7 separate regions of the Homo sapiens genome follow, and all the other regions are linked to region 2. Evidence: promoter capture Hi-C in 16 types of primary human blood cells and fetal thymus (Javierre and others, 2016). All regions are on one chromosome and are shown on one strand. Each heading gives the region's core, a stretch centred on a gene start or on the middle of the fragment in contact. The rest is flanking DNA. Distances are from core to core; before and after follow the strand shown. Region 1 overlaps MMADHC-DT (MMADHC divergent transcript). Region 2 holds the start of RBM43 (RNA binding motif protein 43). Region 3 has its middle 56 kb from the start of MMADHC-DT. Region 4 overlaps MMADHC-DT (MMADHC divergent transcript). Region 5 overlaps PRPF40A (pre-mRNA processing factor 40A). Region 6 overlaps ARL6IP6 (ARF like GTPase 6 interacting protein 6). Region 7 has its middle 29 kb from the start of MMADHC-DT.

Region 1 (3,112 bases), core at 248-2,747, 1.7 Mb after region 2:
GGGATATTACAAAAGGTGGAGTTCGTGGGGCATGGTAGCACAGATGAAGGAGCTGCACAAAAAAGGAACTCTGGAGATCTGCAGTGGGGTCTGGAGGAGGCTTTGCCTAAGTACTGATCTGTGCATGCATGAGAGGAAATGACTCATGCTTGGGAAAAAAACACAAGAAAGGAGTACTCAGAAATATTCTTGCAGCTCACAGAGCGCTAGGAATTGTTCATGTTCCCACCAGCCAAGATGAAACAATAACAACAACAACAACAAAATTTTAAAAACCAAAAACGAAATATATAAGGTATCAAGTAAAAGCTTGAGAATGGTATTAGATTCCAAAGCACTATATAATTAAATGGCCAAAAACTAATGATAAAAAGAAAATCTTAAGATCAGCCATAAAAATAAGACACATTGTGACACACTGCAAACAAAGCAATAAAGAGAAGAATGACAGCAGACTTCCATCATAAACTATGCAAGCCAGATGTATTGAGAGGGGGAAATATTGTCTACCTACATTTCTTTATCAAGAAAAATATATTTCCAATGTGAAGAATGAATGTACATTTCTGGAAGAACAAAATGAAGAGAATTCATCACCAAAAGAATTCCACTCCAACAACGCTAAAGGAAGTTCTTTAGGCAGAGCTAAAATAACACCAGGTGGAAAATTAAATCTACACAAAGGATTAAAGAAAGCCAGAAATGGTAAGTTTGTAGAGGAATGTAAAAAAACAATTTTCTCATTTTACAAAATATCATCAAAATAGAATCGACTGTTTAAAGCAAAAATGAGAGCAGTGTAGTATGGGATTCACAGCAAACATGGAAGTAAAATACATGAGAACAGCAGCCATCAGGATAAAGAGATGGAAGCACCCTGTTGTGAGGTTCTTATACTGCATGTGAAGAGGTATAAGGTAGATTGGGATAAGTTTTTTCTAATGAAAATTATTTGTATTTTTTTTTACCTCAATATGTGACTTTTTAAAAAAATTTTAGTTTTGGGGTACACGTGCAGGTTTGTTACACAGGTAAATTGCATGTCACAGGGTTTGGTGTACAGATTATTTCATCATCCAGGTAATAAGCATAATACCTGATAGGCAGTTTTTGGATCTTCACTCTCCTCCCATCCTCCACCCTCAAATAGACCCTGGTGTCTGTTGTTCCCTTATCTGCGTCCATACCCAATGTTTAACTCCTACTTATAAGTGAGAACATGCAGTATTTGGTTTTCTGTTCGGGCAACAGCCTACAGCTTCATTCATGCTGCTACAAAGGACATGATCTTGTACTTTTTTATGGCTGCATAGTATTCGATGGTGTATATGTACCACATTTTCTTTATCTAGTCTACCATTGACGGGCATTTAGGTTGATTCCATGTCTTTGCTATTGTGAATACTGCTGTGATGAACATATGTGTGCATGTGTCTTTATGGTAGAATGACTTATATTCCTTTTAGTATATACCCAATAATGGAATTGCTGGACAAAATCTTAATTCTGTTTTAAGTTCTTTGAGAAATTGCCAAACTGCTTTCTACAATGGCTGAACTAATTTACATTCCCCCCAGCAGTGTATAAGTTTTCCCTTTTCTCCACAATCTCGCCAGCTAGACTGTGATAAATTAAAGTCCTTCGCTCTTCCGCTGAAAGGAAACTCCAGGTGATTTGGCATTTGATTAAAATTATTAGGCCACCATAGGTATGTCTCTGAGAATGTTCTGCGAAGAGATTAGAATTTGAGTCTTTGAACTGAGTGGGGAAGATCCACCCTCAATGTGGGCAGATACCTTTCAATTGGCTGGGGGCCCAGATGGAATAAAAGGGTGGAGAAAGGGCAAAATCTTGCTCTGTCTTCTAAAGCTAGGATAACTTCTTCCCGCTGCTCTTGAATGTTACAACTCCCCTTCTCAGCTTTTGGACTCTGGGAAACACACCAGCAACCCCCAGGCTCCCAGGTTTTTGGCCTTGGACTGAGAGTTATGCTATTGGCTTCCTTGGTTCTGAAGCCTTCACACTTTGCAGTGAGCCATGCTACCAGTTGCCCTGGTTCTCTAGCTTGCAGACGTCTATCATGGGACTTCTCAGCCTCCATAATCAACTGAGCTAATTCATATATCTTATCAGTTCTGCCTCTCTGGAGAACCATGACTAAAACACCTATTGATTACTTATAATATGCCAGAAATGTTCTAAGTAATTTATACATATTGTCATTTAATTATCATAGTTCCAAATAGATGGGCACTATTATTAAACCCATTCTACAGATGTAGTCCTAAGGCACTTGCCCAATGTAGATGTACGATGCTTTAGGAGTTCAGAAACAGGAGAAGGAGAAATTCAGGACCAGGAGGAACAATGAGGACTGTATTAGCCTAGAGAAGTTGTCATGGAAGGTATAAGACTTGAGCTAGCTCTTGCAAAGGTATATGCTAATGACTACCAGAATTGTCACACCAAATGTCACAATCTAATATTATCAAAGATCTAGTACTTCAGCAGAGTAATTTAAATCAATTCCTCAGATCTCTCAACATTTATTAAATACCTATTATGTTTTAGCCTCCGCAATCAAAGAGATAAACAAAAAATGGCTATCTATTGAAAATGTATATATGATACTCAGCATATTACTAGATGTCACTGGGGTACAGCCCCCACTTTTGAAAAGCTTGTAATCTAGTTGGTCATGTGTGTGTGTGTGTGCATGTGTGTGTATATGTACACGTGTGCAAACTAATTAAAAAGCAACTAAGACTAGGTTATAATCATGAGCTACACTGAGCAATGCTCTATGATTCAGGAAAGCAGATTTCTGTGAATTACCCAGATAGCTTCATGGAGGAGATGGCTTGGAGCTGATATTGAAAAAGCAGCCACATTTATATAAGTAAAGGAAGCAGGAAGAATTTACCAGCTGGTGATAACAAGATGAGAAGGACTTAGGTAGGGATAAGCATAGTTGGTGTGACTAAGAGTGAATAATATTAAAAGATAGCTGAAAATAAAGTCACACATGTAAAGGGGGCAAGAGGGACACAAATTGGACATTAAAATTAACTCAAATCCCAGATTGTTGTTGAGAATATAGGCTTGATAATTT
Region 2 (3,304 bases), core at 157-2,656:
ACTATAACTTCAAGTTCAGTTCTAAAAGTAGAATTGCTGAGACTAAGAATATGTGCATTTTACATTTTTTTGCACTTTACATTTTGATAAAAATCTTTAGAAGTATTTGCATCCATCTATGCTTGCAGCAACTCTGATGCTTACATTCAGGCTAACACTTTCTGGTTTTGCAGATCTAGTTGTGAAAAATGGTATCTTATTATTTCAATTTACATTTCTTAGGAGTGGGATTGGGTTTCTTCATATCTGCTAGCCATCTACCTTTGTTCTTCATGCATTCATTGATTTGATTTTGAAGTTTGTCCAGAGATTCCCTGTGTCCCCACAGGCGCCATTCGGGGTTCCTGTGCTAAGGCATGGACAAGGTGGTGAGCTCTCTGCTGGCAGGGACCTGGCGCTCTCATCCTGTGTCCTTAGCACCCGGCAGAGGTCCAAGAGGGCTCCTGGTCTGGGCTGGGAAGGTGACCAACACGGCGTTGGGGGTTGAGGTGGGGGTTGGGGAACTGGGGTAGGTTGTGCAGAGGAAAAGGCCCAGGTGAGCGGTGGGGGAAGGGGAAGAAGTCTGGACAGATAATAAGGGCGTAGGAAAGACATCCAGATTTCACTGAGTGCAGGGCTTTTTAAAACTGATGTTAGAAAAACTTGATTTGCTGTTGTAAAAAACCATCTGTGTGAAGTAGAAATTGATATCAATAACATGATAGAGAATACGTTCTAAAAAGTAAAGGTAGCTGGATGTAAAATTCTGGCAGAAGTTTAATATCCTAGATGGTTAGTTTGAGGCCAGCAACTAATGAGGATAAAAGCCTTCTCCATGGAAAATTTTGGACAGTTATCTGGAGAAATATTACAGTGCGCATCAACCAAATTGAAATGTTTTCAAAAGTGTTGTAAAGTTTCATGTAGTAAAAAGGTTTTAGCCACATGCCCTTCAATTTCATGGCATCGAATATATAAACACAGAAGAGAGCATGCATGCAAGATATTTAACTCCCTTACATGATAATGCATGCGATTCAAAACTATCATGACATCTAGGGCTCTCTGCAACTACGAGATGATTGATGTTAGGAAAAGCGTAGCCCCCCAGTATCAACACAGGAAGCGGCCACCACCTACTATGTGTTTTCCCTTTTTGCGTTTTTTCTTTTTTTAAATCAACTCTGCCGTTGTTGCTGCTGCTTAGCAAAACGGGTAAAAACAAAATTGCAATCACTGATGCATCACCCAGAGAATTCCCAAATTTCCTGTCGAGGAATCCTCTCGGCCTCTCTCCAGAGTGCTTCCACAAGTTGCAAAACTACGGAGGGCGTCTGGGCAGGCGCTGGCAACAGCACTCCTGAGTCCGAGCTCCCACTCAGAGGCCACGAGGTCGCAGAACAGCCGGATCGGGTGGAAGGACCGCCCTTTTCTTCGTAGCCTCCAAGGGAGCTGGAACAAAAAACGAAACCAAAACCTGCCTGCTCGCTCCTCTCCCCATCGCCTGCGTTCCGCTGGTTGTGGGCTTTCTGCGGCCGCTGAGGGCGCGTCTCCCCTCCGCCATGGCAAGTTGCTTTTGCTTTGGGTTTTGCGGTGCAGGTCCGTGCCTGTACCGTCGCCATGGTCCCCTAGAAGGGCGCGGAACCGGGCGCGACGGGCCAGGGTGCAGGGCTGCGCGGGAGGGGGCGGCGCACGGAGGGGCCCCAGGGACCCCGGGGGCCCCGGAGAGCCGTCCACCCCGGCGGGCAAACTCAGGTCAGCCTCGCTGCACCCTTCCCAGGTGGCGGCATTGCGCGCTCCTGAAATTCACGTACGGCGGTGCAGTATAGGCCCGCTCCAGAGGCTCAGGACTAGGCTGTCACCTCCCACACCCACTGCCCAGGCGACGGGGACGCCGCCGTTCGTCGAGGAGCTGCTTCGCAGGCTGTTAGGGCTTAACTGTTGTCCTCCCACGCCTCGGGGGGAACAAAAGTGGCCTGATTAGCCAGAAATGGAGGTCACAGCTGCCTTTTGAAAAGGGCTAATAAGAACGATTCGAGCCAAGGACGCAAGTCAGGAAGACATCCTCATGTCTTATGTCTGCCTTGGTGCGAATTCTTGTCTTAGCAAATTCAAAATTTATCCTTCTGTGTTTTGTTTTGTTTCCATCAATCGCTTAAAAGCCTTGGCAAGGCCTTTAATTCCTGCTCTGAAATGCTAGAGTCCCGGAAATGCAAAAGCAAGTACGTTTTTGTTGACCTGGTGGCGGTAGAGGCGTCGTCATTGAAAATAAACAACTGATTTTGAGAAAATCAATATAAACAAATGCAGTCAATGAATCTTCTGTTTCTTCCCAATGCCTTACTTACAAAAGTAAAGTTTTGCTATATACTTTTTGCTTTCTGATAAGATGGCCAAGTCTGTTATAACACAATACTGATGCAAGGAAATGCGCCATCACGTTAGTATGTCTTGGCTAAAAGCTGCTCGTTTCAAAGTCCTTGAAAGGACTGTCTTTCTCTAGGCATTTCTTTATCTTAATCGTGGGTAGAAGAGATGAACAACCCTCATTATTCATAATTGACCTCAGTAAAATTATCTATGTTAGCCATACTTTCTCCAACCTATGAAAGGGAGTTAAGGACAAATATTGGCAAGTCATTGAAGTACTAATTCATTAGATGATTCATAGAAACTAGTTCTTACCAAACAAAATTTACATCTTTATGTTTTTTTCTTCTAAAAATACTGGTTCAGGGAGAAGTTTCTTTGATTTTAAAGATAAATTACCAGTAGACATTCGAATAAAGAAATATGGTATTAGTACTAATGAGGGCATAGAGCTGAAGTAAGATTTCCTGAGTTTAAATTGATTGCATGTTTTTCTTTGATATTGTTGGGGTGCAGAAAATGATCTCCCTGCCCGGCACGGTGGCTCACGCCTGTAATCCCAGCACTTTGGGAGGCGAAGGAGGGCGGATCACTTGAGGTCAGGAGTCTCTACTAAAAATACAAAAATTAGCTGGGCGTGATGGCATCCACCTGTAGTCTCAGCTACTGGGGAGGCTGAGGTGGGAGGATCACTTGAGCCCAGGAGGCGGAGGTTGCAGGGAGCCAAGATCACGCCATTGTTCTCCAGCCTGGGCAACAGAGCGAGGCGCTGTCTAAAAAAAAAAAAAGACTTCGAGAGGCCGAGGGGGGAGCGGATCACGAGGTCAGGAGTTTGAGACCAGCCTGGTCAACATGGTGAAACCCCATCTCTACTAAAAATACAAAAATTAGTCGGGCATGGTGGCTGATGCCTGTAGTCCCAGCTACTCAGGAGGCTGGGGCAGGAGAATCGCTT
Region 3 (3,236 bases), core at 551-3,050, 1.7 Mb after region 2:
TCTTTCTGAGAGTGACATCCAGGGATGATTTATAGAGAAGCATTGTTTGGAGAACTTCCCCCAAGTTACCCTATAGTTTAGCAACAATCTCAAAAGATAACCCTCAAACATCCCTTGCTTCCCTTAGTAACCCATTAATGATATATTGTTCATGAATTTATTTTTCCACTCTCAGTCCTACAAATTTTTTCACGTTCTGCCTCTTAAGAAAACATGTTCCTTAGGTTTACTGTTCTTGTGCAAAGTGATTCTTTCTTTTTATGAGTGTGCTAGACTCATCTTCTTAATCCTCACTTCCAGCATTTGGTGAATATGTCTACGTTCTATACCCTATAAGACTTGATTAATTTATGTATTTATTTAACAAAGATTTAAAGAGCATTTACTTTATACAAAAGTCCTTTTTATATTGTAGTTTACCTTCACAGAGCTAGATATTACTCTCCTTGCTTAGCTACTTGTCCTTACCTGTGATATTTCAGGTAGATTTCTGTCTTACTTAATAATTCACAGCTAGCACTTCCCGCAGAACCCAGCATTTCTGAAACAAAGATAGGAAAACATTCTGTTTGGTTCCCAGTATTCCTTCTAATCATGGCTTACATTTTGTTTGTCTTTTTGTTGTAAAATATACCTATTTAGTACACATTGTCAGTAGTAATTATTAGAATTGTTCCGTGAGTAATGCTTGAGTGTTTAGGGCTATGTCATCCTTTGGAGTACAGTCATGTGCCCCATGACAGCGTTGGACCATGTTGTCAATATTCATCAACGTTGGACCACATATAGGATGGTGGTCCCATAAGATTATAATTCTATGTTTTTACTCTACATTTTCTATGTTTAGATACAGAAATACTTACCACTGTGTTATAACTGCTTATAGTAGTCAATATAGTAACATGCTATCTGGCTTGTAGCCTAGGAGCCATACGCTGTACCATACAGCCTAAGTGTGTAGCAAGCCATACAATCTAGGTTTGTGTAAATACATGCTATAATGTTTCCACAATGATGAATTCACCAAATGATGCATTTCTCAGAACATGTCTTTGTCATTAGGCGTTACATAACTGTATTTTCCCCAGCGCCATCACTTTCCCCCTTGGTCATACTGAATTGCATTTGACATTAAAAAAAAAAAATTTGCAAAGCCTAGAAAAATCTCACTGATTAGTTTCTTACTGTCTGAAAGATTCCAGCCTATCCTGCCTTCTAAGTTCAGGTCAACTCAAAAGCAGCTACACCTAGTAGTTATTGATTTGCCTATTATGTATTATGTCAAATACAAATTTAATTATATTAATAATTTTGACCCCTATCAATTACCTAAGATCAGAGTGGTGTCATCATTAAACCTACAAGTAATTCATCAGCTTCAACTGAAACCATAATTATAAGATCTTTCACTATTGAAACTTCTGTTAATATAACAAGATAAGATTTTTTATCTTCTTTGCCATTGTTCTTTATCTTTCTATCAAAAGAGTTATGAATGGTCAAAAGCCCTGATAAAAATAGTAGCCGGGCTCTTTGGCTCATGCCTGTAATCCCAGCACTTTGGGAAGCCAAGGTGGGTGGATCACTTAAGCTCAGCAGTTCGAGACCAGCCTGGGCAATACAGACATCCTGTTTCTATGAAAAATAAAAAAATTAGCCCAGAATGGTGGCATGCATCTGTAGTCCCAGTTACTTGGGAGGCTGACGTGGGAGGATCACATCAGCCTAGGAGGTTCAGGCTTCAGTAAACTATGATTGCACCACTGCACTCCAGCCTGGGCAACAGAGTGAGACCCTGTCTCAAAACAAAACAAAACAAAACAAAACAAAGTAGATATGTGAATAGTTGCCTATGTTTAAGCCAAACCCTTGATAAGCAAAGCAGTTGAAAGTACCACTTGCTATTTTAAATGGTTTCAGAGCATAAAATCTACTGCTGGTTGTCCCCCCAATTCCATTTTCCCCATCTTCCTGGCATGCACCTGGACTTGATATTACAGCCTCTCTTCTAGTTCGGTGAGGTGATGTGACTGAATTCTAGCTAACTTCTATTGTTTGAGCCATTAAATGTTTGAGTTTATTTCTTATCTCAGTTTGGTCTAACTTGTCTAATACAAAGAATTCTCTCTCTTAGAATCAGGTCTTTCTCAGTCAAGAAAATAAGCAGTTGTGCAGGCTGCCAAGGTGAGAGGTAGGATTCCGAGAGAGAAAAGGACACTGTTACCTATGTTACCAGCCATAGAGTTTGTGATTTCAAGAGATGGGAAAGAGTTTTATGTGGATGCTCGTGGCTAAGTCTCCTGGTGGATATTTCCCTGAGTTTAATTCATTGATTTTTCTTCCTAGACTGTTTCTCTCATGGTTTTCATAACATATATAGCTTCTGCTGAAGGAGAAACCTCCATGGAGTTAAGGCCACAGTTCTGTGAGTTTTCACAAATAAACAGTCATGTAACTACCATCACAATAAAGACATAGAACATTTCATAACTGCCAAAATTTCCCCCACACCTTTTGTAGCCAACCACTTGAAATCATTGATCTTGTTTTCTGTGGCATGGCATAGAAATGAAATCACAGTTTGTATGTATCCTTTGGGTGTGGTTTCTCCCACTAACATGGAGCATTTAAGCTCCACCTGTGTTGTTGTGTATATCAATGATCTATTTTTATTGCTGGGTTGTATTTCATTATATTGATATATTATGACGTGGTTACTCATTCCACAGTTGAGAGACATTTGGGTTCTTTTTAGTTTGGGGGTTATTATGAATAAAAACATGCTAATCATTTATGTATGGGTTTTTGTATGAATACAGGTTTTGTTCCACTTGGGTAAATAGCAAGGAATGGGATTGCAGGCTAAATGTATATGAACATTATAAGAAACTGCTGAAGTGCTTTCCAAAGTGACTGTTCCATTTTGCATTCCCACCAGAGTTCCAGATTTTTTTAATCATTTGCTCATTCTAATAAATAGTGCCCAAGATTAATTTTGCCTGTTCTAGAATGTCAAATGGAGTCATTTACATGGCTTCTTTTGCTTAGCATAATGTATATAGAGTTAGTCCATGTTATTACACATACCAGTAATTCATTTTTTTTTTTTACTGCTGAGTAGTATGCCATTGTATAAATATATATCTCTTCCTTTATGCATTCATCTCTTGATGGACATTTGGGTTGTACAGAAACAGGCAGTTACAAGCTCCTCCGTAGTTTCTTGTCTTTTTGTT
Region 4 (3,258 bases), core at 21-2,520, 1.6 Mb after region 2:
AAATTATTTCTACTTCAGCTTTTTCTAGGCTCCTAAGGCCTAAATATCATATGACAGTGAGGTAAGAACAGAGCCCTGTGCAGAACTGCTAAGATGATTGTAAAACCGTTTTTATCAGCATCAATGAACCCTAATTAAAAAAAAAAGAAAAGAAAAAAAAAAAACCTCTACAGTTTGAAGAACTGGAGAAGAATCCTGTTGAGAGAGTTATTGGCAGCATGGCTCTCCCAAGGGAGAAAACCTACTTCTTTGCTTTAAGCCAAGTGAGAGGAACTTCAAGGGGAGGAGACACTTGAAGAGTTTGATAAATATCTCCCAGAGTTTTAAAAGAATGTTAGTGCAGGTATAAGACATTGTGGCTAGACCGGCCTGAAGGAGCAATGCAGAGAACAAGGCAGGAATCAAACTTTCTGCACACCAACTGTGTGCCACACAGGAAGGAACAAACCTAGAGTTCTTGGAAGGACTGCCTGGAAAGACATAGCAAACTGCCAGGAATCGAGGACAGTGTCAAAAGTAACAAACTGTATGAGGTATCACCTATCTTACAGTAATTATAGTTGCAGTTGAGGCTCCCACAGGCAAAATCACTCCAAAAACACCCCTGTGATAAAGTCAGGTTTGAGCCTCCATGATGGCAAATCCAAATCACATCAGTAAGCTCTTTGATGTCCCCTTAACTCTTCTCCCTTATCCCCCTCCAGTGCTGAAGGCACTAGAAGCCATAGTTAGTGATGGAAGAGGAGATGCCATGTCTCATACACACACACACACACACACACACACACACACACACACACACTTTACATTCACATACATACACTCTCATACACATGCATTTATACACACATTCACATGCATTCACACACATGCATACACACAAACACCACACACACACCAGGCTTCCAATTCTTGGTCAGGCCCTGGCTGGGAAATGGGAGAAAATTTAAAGAGGACAATGGGTTTCTATTATTATGCTGAACTGAACTGCTTAAAGCTTTAAAGTAACTGGAAGATTACTAATTGCCAGAAAATAGAGAGCAATTTTTAAAACTCTGAGATCTGCTCAAAATTTCATCCAAGAATCGGGAAAAAAGCTATTCAACCCAATGTGTTAAAGAGACAATGAGAAAAAAAAAAAGTTGCTTCAGGTTTCTTTTTTCTAATGAGCTTTTTTAACTATAATGGTCACAGACTTAATAGAAAAAGATTGGCCTCCAACCCTTCAAGTCCTTGAATGTTTTCAAAACCACTTTAAAACACCAAAAGGCATTGATTCATCTGCCCCTAATCAAACTGCAAGCACCCACATTTGAGAAAAGCAAAAACTATTTCTTCTTCGATTGTGTTGTTCCTCTGTTTTGCCTAATTAATAGTATTAAAACTATGTGTTTTCTATTGTTTTTCATTGAAAATGCACTGTACTTTTACTCCCCTATTGATTTTTAAGTCAGATAGACCTATAACATTCTTCATAAAGGAAAATGTCTGCAACATTCCAAAATTAATGGTTAGAACCCAACCCATTTGTAGACTAAGCTTCCCTGTAATATGTGCATACTCCAGTGATGACTGTACATGTAAGAGTAAAATAAAACCTTTATTCAACATGATCATCTCTGTATAGAACTTGTTATACTAATTTCAAATCTCTCAAAGGATATAGATGTTTTCCCCAGCAGGTCTGGTCTCAGGGATAAGAGAAATTCATTATTCCATCTGTATTAATTTGTCATGGTGTGTACAGCCAAGGATCCAGCACAGAAATGGCACAAGCAAAGACTTCCAGGCTGACTGTCTCTTGGGGGTCCAAGACACAGTAAGTTGTCAGAGTTGATAAAGATATGTTCTAAGAAATGTGAACCTGCCCATTATTTTTCTGGGAATAGCAGCCAAAACCAATAACAAAAAAAAAAAAAAAAAAATGACCCAACACCGCCAGGCTTGCAGGCATTCTTTACTACATTTCATGCCAATTATTCCTTCTCACATGAAAAGCAGGCATTAATTTCCAACCCCTGACCTATATTTCACATACCAGAGTTTCAGACCAAAAGAAACACTAGCTATCATAAAAATGCTACGACAGCCTGCCACATGAGGAGGAATCCCTTTAGGCTTCCAGCCAACAAGTTTGGTTTGAGTCTGCCACACTTTTATAGGGTGGAAAGGTGAGGTAGGGGAGAAAGAGGATAATTGTCCTCCCTTCCTTGAGAGGTCTTATCACAATATCTACTACTTTCAGAGAGGTAGTGAAAAAAATGATGGAAATCATAACTAATATCTGCTTGTCTCCATGGCATCTAGAGTCCCAGTAGGCCTCATCCTTAGCTGCTTCTCCTGTTTCAAGCACAAACTAATCATTCCAGTAAAACCTCCAGAAAAGATCTCCTGCATGCCTGAAATATTCCAAAGACATGGGATTGGAACTAGAAAGTGCTTCAGACAGAAACTTATGCTGGAGCATGGCTTTTGTGAATGGGAAGTCATGGGCAATGGTTCTTCTAGTGGCTGAACGGGAATTCAAGTATAATGGTTCATTTTCACTAAATGGTTCCCTGGGGGTCCAAAAAAAAAACACAAAAGAGCAATATCCAAAAGTGCCAAACATCTTTCCAGGGGTAGCTTTTTCAGGGGGAAGAATCTAATTCAGTGAGGACTCACAATGTGTTATACTGAAAAATGGAATGAAAATACATTTCCAGCCTTCTCAAGCAGACTCCAACAGTGAAGAAAAAACCAGAACACAAAACATTCTCAGGTTATAGCCAAGTTCTAGATGGATCTCAAGACCCAGCAGAGAGATTAATTTAATTTTCTAAGATAGCAGAGTAAGTCAAGAAATAGGGAATTTAAATGAAATTATTTTTGCCTGACTACCATATCAAATCCTTAAATAATAAGGCAGTGTCTAACTCCATTATTTCAAACTTCAAATATTGTTTCTAGCATAATAAGAGAAGCATGCAGAAAGGGGATGGGAGGCATACTGCATTGTTATTCAAAGCAAACCCTCAGCATCTTCTGTACTTCATTCATTCACATATATGTATTCACATATATGTATTAACTATTCCATTCAAAGTTCTGTGCAAGCTGCTAGGGCTGAAATTGTGAACAAGATAGATAAGACTGTTGTCTTCATATAGAAGCAGAGAAGAGAGAAAAACTGCATTTTGAACAACAGACAAGCTCTAGCTATGCCAAAGCTCTAGCTAAACTGATATACTTGGTCAAGGTGTCCAGCCTTTGTAGAAA
Region 5 (3,124 bases), core at 38-2,537, 1.4 Mb before region 2:
ATCAAATGCTTTAGAGAGATTTGGGGTTTGGGGTACTGATTCCTGAATTCCTTTTATTATCATCTCCCTTAGGTCCTGCATGTTTTTATTGTCCAACTGGGGGTCTCGGGCGGGGAATTTCTGGTTCACAGTAGGAACTTTTTGACTGGGAGGACACTCACGTTCCCAAATTACCATAGCAGCCCTACGAATCACACTCCCTTCTTTTCCTGAAAAGAGGATGTCCAAGATGGACATTAACTCTACCCAAGTGTATAACTGAGGTCCTAAAAATTGATCAGTTTGATCTGTCACTCCATAAGGGTCATCTTGCAGTGGCTTAAGCTCTTTCTTTAAATTCTGGACCTCTGAACTGATTAAGGGAGCATTCACGGAGCCAATGGTTCCCCCTCTTTATGGCATTTCTCTTAAGGGAAAGAGAGCAGGGGCTGACTCTTGAGTTGTAGAGGGGAAAGGGAAGTTCTGGATATCCTTTTTACATTGCTCTATTTCACACTGGAGTCCCTTTAGGGAGGGGTCCTTAGGCTGATAGGGGACAGGCTCCTGGGATGATAATTTCTAAAAGTCAGGATTGTAAGGAGGAGGAGTAACATGAGTAGGTGAAGGATCTAGAGTGGGATCTGGGGCAGCAGCGGCTGCCTGAGGAGAGGGGTTGGGGTCACTGAGTGGGGGAAGATGGTCTAGGGGATCCCATGTGCTGGAGTCTTTGAGCATTGGAACTAACTTACCTAATTTTTCCTTTTGTGATGCTAGATCAGGTTCTTTCCTAGTTGTCTCAAAGGGAAAAAGGAGGACAGGTCCCTGCCTCCAACAAAGAGCATAGTCCATTTCCTCTTAAGAAGCTGGGCTTTTATCATTGACATATTGAATCAAAAGCTGACACATCGCACTCTCATTTGACCTAAACTTTGGCCAGAAGATTGAGGGTTTGAGGATGGGTCCCTGAGTCCAAATAAAACAGTAATTGCTGCTGCTTATGTTTAGTCTTCTCATTATCTTTCCAGTCTTTTAACATGAGACCTAGGGGACTATCGGGGCAATATCTTTACTGCTACCTTTATCCTTTTTACTCCTTGTCTTGCTTAGGGTATTTCCCATGTCAGGTCCTAGTATTAGAGACTTCTTGCCTATTCTCTGGAGGCTTGTTAAGGCTCAGTCCCTTGTATTAGAGATTTCTTGCCTATCCTTTAACCCCGCCTCCTGGAGGATCCTTGCATCCTTCTTTTGCTTTGTCCACTCTGGCTACTTCCCTCGTGGGAATTTAGGCCCCTCTTGGCATTGGCATGCCGGTATGAAACCCACAGCAGGATCCGCCCTAAGCTGTATGAAGTGACCACAGAACTGCAGATAGGACCCACTCACTCTGCACAGCAGTAGTGCTTGGTACCATTCACACAAGCAGCACCGCAAGCAGTAGTGCTTGTGATCATTCACACACACTTTCATCCTCCAGAATATCCCAACCACCAAGGAAATACTTTGTCACCCCTGCAACATTTCTTACCTTGGTCTGTGCAGAGTTACCTGGTTGCTGCAGCATGTGAGAATCCTTTTGCCAAGCTGCTGGCCTGTATCTTTTCTTGTTGCCGAGAGTCTGGGTTTATTTGTTGCACTGGATGGGTTCCAATCTCTCACACTGAGGCCACTGCAACAAGGCGATGGGATGCGCCTCCCCACAAGAAGTGACCAGAGACCGGTTCCCCGGAGGAGAATGGGAATCCTGGGTGGGCCCCCAAATTGTTGGAAGTAAATGCTTGGTGTCACAAAGTGAAAATATACTCAGGCAAAAGTTTTCTCATCAAGGCAATTTACTTCTGTAGAAGGGTGTGTCTCGCGGATGGAGCAATGGCAAGAGCACACTGGACAAGGGAGGGAAAGGGGTTCTTATTCCTAACAGCTGGTCCCTACTGTTGTGTCTTTCCCCTATTGGCTAGGGTTGGACTGCACAATCTAAACTGACTCGATTGGCTGCTGTTTGTAATTGAACACAGATATCTAGGCGGGAAGGGGAAGGCTATGCGTTATGGCGTAAGACATGTCTAGGCATGTCAGGGCGCGGCAAGGGCAGGAAGGGTTAGTTATAGCATGGATAACTACAGAAACCAGAAAAACGAAGTGGAAGAACTGGGAATTAAAACCTTTTGAAGAGGAATTTATCATCTCTGTCATGATATTTTGCATTGGTGGATTTAAAAGGAAAGCCACTTCTGCTGCTTTCTTGCTCAGTGTACTCAAAGTGGGAATCTGAATCTTCTCCCAGTCTGAATGATTCTGTTAGTCATGAAGAACTAGTGAACACTGTCTTGAGTTGAAATTCAGTTTGCTCTGTCTTAGGCTTTGGTTTTTGTTTTTATTTTAACGAAAATCTTACATTTATCTTAGACTTTGATTTTTATTTTTTATTTATTTATTTTTTTTGAGACGGACTCTTGCTTTGTCGCCAGGCTGGAGCGCAGTGGCGCAATCTCAGCTCATTGCAACCTCCACCTCCCGAGTTCAAGCAATTCCTTTGCCTCAGCCTCCCAAGTAGCTGGGACTACAGGTGCGCATCACCATGCCTGGCTGATTTTTTGTATTTTGGTAGAGACGGGGTTTCACCATGTTGGCCAGGATGGTCTCGATTTCTCGTGATCCACCCACCTTGGCCTCCCGAAGTGCTGGGATTACAGGCGTGAGCCACCGCGCCTGGCCAACTTTGATCTTTTTAAACAAAATTCACATTACATTGTGAATGGGATCCTTGTCATTAGGTCTTAATCTTAAATTTAGGCTAAGACTTTTAAAACTAGCTTTTGATAAATGAATGAGCATTAAGTTCTTGTTTGCAAACACCCATTTGGCCATGCGGAATCAAGAAAGTTGTTACTTCTTCGAAAGATGATTTTTCAGTAATCTCTAAGTCATCGTGTATTTGTGATCATATATTTCTTAGGTATAGAAAATTAGACCCTTATACTGAAATAAAGTATAAAGATTTAGCTTGATATGCTACTGAATCTAATTTGAGAGACCTGGGGAAGGGGATAATAATGGTCTTGTGTCCTTGTACACTTTTGTCTAAAAGAAGGCTTTGATGACTTTTTAGAGTAAGTTTTAAAGTCATTCTATATGGCTTGAGGCAATA
Region 6 (3,051 bases), core at 331-2,830, 1.5 Mb before region 2:
TTTAAATAAACTGGTATACTTATATTATGAAATACAATGCAGTCATGAAAAAATGAGGTAGACCTATGTATACTAATACAGAATATACTCCAAAAGGCACTTTAACAAGGCTGCAAAATATACATGATTCCAATTATATTTTTCCTATAACAGTGAAAAAAACATGTATTTTAAATGACTATACATATGTAAACAAAGAGAAAAAGATGTAAAAAGACACACAGGTAGATCGGTGAAAGCCTTTGCTTTAATTGTTGGAATCTTTCCTGGTGAGATTAAATTACTTACGTAACTAATGCATTTTATGATACTAACAATGAAAATACAATACAATCATACACTGATGACAGGGATATGTTCTGAGAAATGCATCATTAGGTGATTTCGTTGTTGTTTGTACATCACAAGAGCGTACTTACAAAAACCTAGGTATATAGCCTACTACACACCTATGAGCTATACAGTTATATCCTATTATTCCAATGCTACAGACCTGTGCGGCATGTTACTATACCAAATACTGCACGCGACTGTAATACAACAATAAGTACTTGTGTATCTGAACATACTTAAATATAGAAAAGGTACAGTAAAAATACAGTGTAAAAGATAAAATATGGTACACCTGTATAGGGTACTTACAATGAATGGAGCTTACAGGACAAAGAGTTGCTCTGGGTCAATCAGTGAGCGAGTGACTGATGAGTGAAGGTGAAGGCCAAGGACACTACTGTCCACTACAATAGACTATTATAAACACTGTACACTTAGGTTACGCTAAATTAAAAAATTTTTCTCTTCATTAATAAATTAACCTTAGCTTACTGTAACTTTCTTACTTTATAAATTTTAAAATTTAACTTTACCCTTTTCTACTAACAGTTTAAAACAAAAGGACACTGTACAGCTGTGCAAAAATGTTTTTTCTTTATACCATTACTCTATAAGCTTCTATTTCTAATTTTTTAGTTTTTAAACTTCTTTGTTGAAATCTAAGACACACACACATTAGCCTAGGCCTACATAGGGTCAAGGTAATATCACTGTTTTTCACTGTCACATCTTTTTCCACTGAAAGGTCTTCAAGGGCAACAACATGCATGAAACTGTCATCTCCTATGACAACAATGCCTTCTTCTGGGATACCTCCTGAAGGACCTGCCTGAGGCTGTTTTACAGTCAACTTTTTTTAAGCAGAAGTAATATAATCTAAAACAATAAGAAGCATAGTAAATACATAAACCAGTAACATAATTGTTTATCAAGAATTATGTTATGTACTGCACGTAATTGTGCTGTATTTTTTTTTATGACTGGAAGGTTATATAAAACTAGATTGGTAATAGGTTGGTTTATACCAGCATCAACACCAACATGTGAGCAATATATTGTACTACCAAGTTAGGACAGTTGCAATGCCACTAAATAGGAATTTTTCAGCTCCACTGTAATCTTATGGGACCACCATCATACAGGCATATATGCAGACCACTGTTGACCAAAATGGTATGTGGTGTATGGCTGTACTTAGCTAACTTTAAAAGTTGTAAAAACTATTACCAGCTGGCTACTAATAAAACTTAGATGTATCATATGCATGAAACTAACCATCAATTTTTAAATGTTTATGTAAGCAAATGTTCTCAACTTTATTAGATTCTATAGTTTTCTAACTTGAGAGGATGACCATTATTTTAAATAATTTGGTATCCTCTCTAAATCACATTCTATAGATAGCTCAAGTCTTTAAATCCCTAGAGCAAAGTGTCTCTTTACACGTCAAAGCCAAGTGCAGGAGCAGAGGAAAGTGCTCTCTCCTCTCCTGCCAATGCAACATGAGCATAGTGGGTGCAGAGTGCATGGTAGCTATAGCAGTTACACTGGTTAAGGCCTTCACCCAATCGCCCGACCACCTGCAACCCAGACTGTAGCATTTCTACATCTTTCTGTTGAAACAGATGAGGAAGGTGATCCTCTGACAGATTAAGTGACTGAAATTTCAAAAATAAATAACACCTGTAGTTCCCAACATTGGTAAATCATTAGATTCACATGGGAAAATTAAAAAAAAAACCCAACACTTTTATTACAGATCATTTCAAACACAGGAAAAAGTTGAGAGAAGTATATAAAACTCATATACCCATCATCCAGCTTTAAACAATTAATTCATGGGCAATCCTGTTAAATTTATATTCTCCTCTGAAGCTTGTAATCTTCAGTATAACAGGGAAAACAGTCATCAATATTTTTATCATATAAGTCCAAAGAGGCTTTTTTATTTCCTTTATTTTCATGACACTTGAAGAATAATTTAGAGAGCAAAAAGACAGCAGGAAAAAAACTTTGTTAAAAATTTTCATAAGAAATAAATACAGCAAATCCGAATTTCAATTCCCAGTTTCCCTAAAGTCATGTACACCAAAAATGGGCACGACCTGAGTGCAAATAATTGCTTACTAACTTCATGTATGAATCTACAACATATCCATCTTGTAAATACCACTTCCAGATTTCAGATACATCTCAAATTGGTTACAGCTTGTCATTATTCCTGCTTTTTTTTTTTGCACTTGCGTCATTAAAACACAATGTTTGAAGGAATTTTTAAGCCTTTCATGGCTTATTTTGACGAAAAGAGGACAACAATCTTCTTTGCTCCATAATTTGTAACATATTTTCATTTTTAGATTACAAACAATTCAAATGGTCAACCCAATAATTCTTTTTTGCATTTTTTTTTCCAAATCACCTTTGTATACACATCTGCCCTTAGCATCTGTCCACTTACAAACAGTATCAAATAAATTAGGATGCAGACCTCATAAAAGATGAAAAAAATACTTAAAGTCTTAGGAAAGTCTTACTGGAATCCTAATTCCATCATAATTATTTTATTCTTTCGACCATAGTTGAGAATTGATGAGTAATACTAAAATAATGAAATAGGAGAATGTTTTGAGAAAGAACAATATGTGACCACTAAAATCCCAAAACGTATTTCAAAATTAAAAAATGTCCAATAGACCAATGTGGTAATTTCAAGATCAA
Region 7 (2,863 bases), core at 134-2,633, 1.7 Mb after region 2:
AGCCCTTACCACACACCCCATCTGCCAGCACCCTGAACAGTGAGAAATTTCTATTACAGTTCAAGAGGGGGATTAGGGGTGCCGACCACCCCAACCCCAGGCTGAGTCAAAAATCCACATATAACTTTTGACTCCCCAGAAACTGAACTACTGACAGCCTACTGTTGACTGGAAGCCTTGTTGGCAACATGAGTAGTTAACATATTTTGTATGTTAAATGTATTACATTCTGAATTTTTTTTTTCCTTGGGCTGGAGTGCAGTGGCGCGATCTCAGCTCACTGCAAGCTCCGCCTCCTGGGTTCACGCCATTCTCCTGCCTCAGCCTCCTGGGTTCACGCCATTCTCCTGCCTCAGCCTCCTGAGGAGCTCGGACTACAGGCACTTGCCACCACGCCCGGCTACTTTTTGTATTTTTAGTAGAGACGGGGTTTCACCATGTTAGCCAGGATAGTCTCGATCTCCTGACCTCGTGATCCGCCGCCTAGGCCTCCCAAAGTGCTGGGAAATAAACTAGAGAAAAGAAAATGTTAAAAAAAAAATCATGAAGAAGAGAAAATATATTTACTCTTTATTAAGTGGAAGGGGCTCCTCATGAAGGTCTTCATCCTCATTGTCTTCATGTTGAGAAGGCTGAGGAGGAGGAGGTAGAGGAGGGATTGTTCTTGCTGTCTCAGGGGTGGCAGAGGCAGAAGGAAATCTGAATATGAGTGGACCCGGGCAGTTCAAACCCAAATTGTTCAAGTTTACCTCTAACTATAAATTACCCAGTTTGTGGTATTCTGTCAAACCAGCCCAAACGGACTAACACGGTATAAAAATAATTAAATCATTTAAAATTTTATGATTCACAGAGGTTTTCTCAAACTCTACACCTTTCCTTTGCTTTTTACTTAATCATATCCAATATACGTCCACTCTGAATTAGTAAAGTTTGACGTTTGATGCTGACATACTTCATGTCTGCTCCAAGTCGTAGAGCTTATGGCATGTCTAGAGACTCTTGGAGGAGAGGAAATCTCAGCTGGCCCTTGAAAGGCAGGCGGGATTTGAATAGTGAGCAGAGGATATTCCAGGAGCTAAAACATGAGACTAACACAAGAGAGTGGACTGGTTTACCTAGAGTTTCCTTGACTGCAAGGACTTGGGAAATGAGGCTAGAAAGACACCTTGGGGCTAGATTGAAGGAATTTTTAGTTCCAGAATAAGGAATTCACCGATATGCTATAGCATTAAACATTGAAGGTTTTCAAGCAGAAGAATAATTCGATTAAATCAACTTTTGGAAAGATAGATCTCCTGGTGGTATAGGATATAAACTGTAGGCAAAAAGTAACTGGCAACAAAAAGACTACTGTTGTAATGGGGTAACTCAAAGGTAATAGAGGCCTAAATTAGGGTGGTGGCCGTAAGAATGAAATAAATATTCCAAAGTAGAAATTAAAGCAGGAACTGACTGCTCCCTAGGTCTTGCTGTCCAATCCCACTTCCAGCAATCCAAACAAAAGACTGCAGTTTTCAACATGGATGACTAAAAGAATAATAATAATAATAGCACTGGTAATAATAGTAACAAGCCAACATTTTCATCGTGCTTACTGTGCCCAGCACTTAGCTAAGTGCTTTATACATAATGCATATAATCTTCATAACAACCCCATGAAATAAGTATTATTATTCCCATTTCATGGATCAGAAACCTGAAGCAGAGAGAGGCCAGGTGATGAGTTTAAAGTCGCATGGATATTGAATGGCAGAGCCAGGACTGGAACACAAGCAATTGGGCCTTGGACCCTAATGCCTAGCCTGGTGGTCTCACTACCAAGTACTAGTTTGCAGCATATAGCCCTCTTACATTTATGTGGTAAAGTTAAAATGGTGGTGAATATCTGCATATACTTAGAGTTGGGAACCTAGAATTCAGAGAGTAGTCAGGATAGAGGATGTAAAGTTGAATGACAAGCATACCTCACTCAACTTGAATATTTGAAACTCCATTATTGCATTTGATGATAGAATTTAACCCACCGATCTTCCACAGCTCAGGAGAGAGGGTGTGGTAGGGGTGGGATCAAAACAATAAAGATTTTCAGACCCATTGGAAAGAGTTTTGACAGGCTTTGTCATCATACCTCTCAGCAGTTATGCTCTGCTTATCTTTTGTTCTCTGATGTATGCTAATAATTTGCTACGTGATCATGTACTATTTTAATTTCCATTTGGTTCTAGGAAATCAAGTCGCTTATAATATTTTCATGCTCATTCTTATGTTCCAACCTTTAACAACTGTTTTAGGATTCTGAAATTTCTCAACATTACAACATGCATGAAATATCATGACTAGTTCAGTTATCCAGATACTCATCCAAAATCAAAGGACTGTACAGCATCGTGGTTAAGAGACTGGGGTTTGGAAAAAAACTCCTGAGTCTGGATCTCAGTTGTGCTATTTACAAGTTTTCTGACCTTGGGCAAGTTCCACTTCTGTTAATACCCATCTCATGAGAAGATTTAAGGTTTAGGAGGGATGACATATGCAAGCCATTTCTTACTATTCCTGTGGAAGAGGTCAGTAAATTTTAGCTGTTCTTATTATCTGACCTCTGAATGTGTACAAATTTTGTGGACAACTAAACAGTAAAAATTACCCCCAAATATATTTTCCTAAAATTATAATACAAACATCTTCAAGAGGACATGTATTTGGCAGAACACTTTAGTATTTAATCTCACCACAACTTTGGAAAAGTAATACCATCACAAACAATTCATCACATCCAAAACAAATAAATGGAGCACTCCTACTAGCTGTACATACACAGATAGTGTGTTAAGTAATCACAGAATTCACTGCTTTAGACTTA

What was found. Contacts are between HindIII fragments. The CHiCAGO score rates a contact against its expected background, and 5 or more counts as called.
Region 1: a fragment that was not itself captured here is called in contact with the fragment with the promoter of RBM43 in region 2 in 15 of 17 cell types (total CD8 T cells, naive CD8 T cells, total B cells and 12 more); the score reaches 33.1 in total CD8 T cells.
Region 3: a contact is called between a fragment that was not itself captured here and the fragment with the promoter of RBM43 in region 2, in 4 of 17 cell types (total CD8 T cells, naive CD4 T cells, activated CD4 T cells and 1 more). The highest score is 10.7, in total CD8 T cells.
Region 4: a contact is called between a fragment that was not itself captured here and the fragment with the promoter of RBM43 in region 2, in 9 of 17 cell types (naive CD8 T cells, M2 macrophages, monocytes and 6 more). The highest score is 11.4, in naive CD8 T cells.
Region 5: a fragment that was not itself captured here is called in contact with the fragment with the promoter of RBM43 in region 2 in 1 of 17 cell types (total B cells); the score reaches 5.6 in total B cells.
Region 6: a fragment that was not itself captured here is called in contact with the fragment with the promoter of RBM43 in region 2 in 7 of 17 cell types (total CD8 T cells, naive CD8 T cells, non-activated CD4 T cells and 4 more); the score reaches 10.5 in total CD8 T cells.
Region 7: a fragment that was not itself captured here is called in contact with the fragment with the promoter of RBM43 in region 2 in 8 of 17 cell types (naive CD8 T cells, activated CD4 T cells, monocytes and 5 more); the score reaches 14.1 in naive CD8 T cells.

Annotation. Positions count from the first base shown.
Region 1 is chr2:149,598,618-149,601,729 of GRCh38, reverse strand. The region is part of intron 1 of MMADHC-DT (MMADHC divergent transcript); the gene reads right to left. Among named protein-coding and RNA genes, the nearest start is that of MMADHC, 12 kb to the right of the region's middle. The HindIII fragment of the contact is 2,371 bases long and covers 312-2,682 here.
Region 2 is chr2:151,259,965-151,263,268 of GRCh38, reverse strand. RBM43 (RNA binding motif protein 43) reads left to right here and starts at 1,406. Exons shown (of 4, transcript NM_198557.3): 1 at 1,406-1,544. The coding sequence starts at 1,542. RefSeq lists an enhancer at 1,323-1,552 and a silencer at 1,593-1,862. The HindIII fragment of the contact is 8,034 bases long and covers 1-3,304 here.
Region 3 is chr2:149,530,224-149,533,459 of GRCh38, reverse strand. No RefSeq gene overlaps it. Among named protein-coding and RNA genes, the nearest start is that of MMADHC-DT, 56 kb to the left of the region's middle. The HindIII fragment of the contact is 3,710 bases long and covers 1-3,236 here.
Region 4 is chr2:149,615,991-149,619,248 of GRCh38, reverse strand. All of the region lies in intron 1 of MMADHC-DT (MMADHC divergent transcript), which reads right to left. Among named protein-coding and RNA genes, the nearest start is that of MMADHC, 30 kb to the right of the region's middle. The HindIII fragment of the contact is 542 bases long and covers 1,000-1,541 here.
Region 5 is chr2:152,700,311-152,703,434 of GRCh38, reverse strand. All of the region lies in intron 2 of PRPF40A (pre-mRNA processing factor 40A), which reads left to right. Among named protein-coding and RNA genes, the nearest start is that of PRPF40A, 16 kb to the left of the region's middle. RefSeq lists enhancers at 473-974, 1,247-2,446, 1,933-2,560. The HindIII fragment of the contact is 5,812 bases long and covers 1-3,124 here.
Region 6 is chr2:152,725,169-152,728,219 of GRCh38, reverse strand. The region is part of intron 2 of ARL6IP6 (ARF like GTPase 6 interacting protein 6); the gene reads right to left. Among named protein-coding and RNA genes, the nearest start is that of ARL6IP6, 8.1 kb to the right of the region's middle. The HindIII fragment of the contact is 1,260 bases long and covers 951-2,210 here.
Region 7 is chr2:149,556,624-149,559,486 of GRCh38, reverse strand. No RefSeq gene overlaps it. Among named protein-coding and RNA genes, the nearest start is that of MMADHC-DT, 29 kb to the left of the region's middle. RefSeq lists a silencer at 2,738-2,863. The HindIII fragment of the contact is 4,195 bases long and covers 1-2,863 here.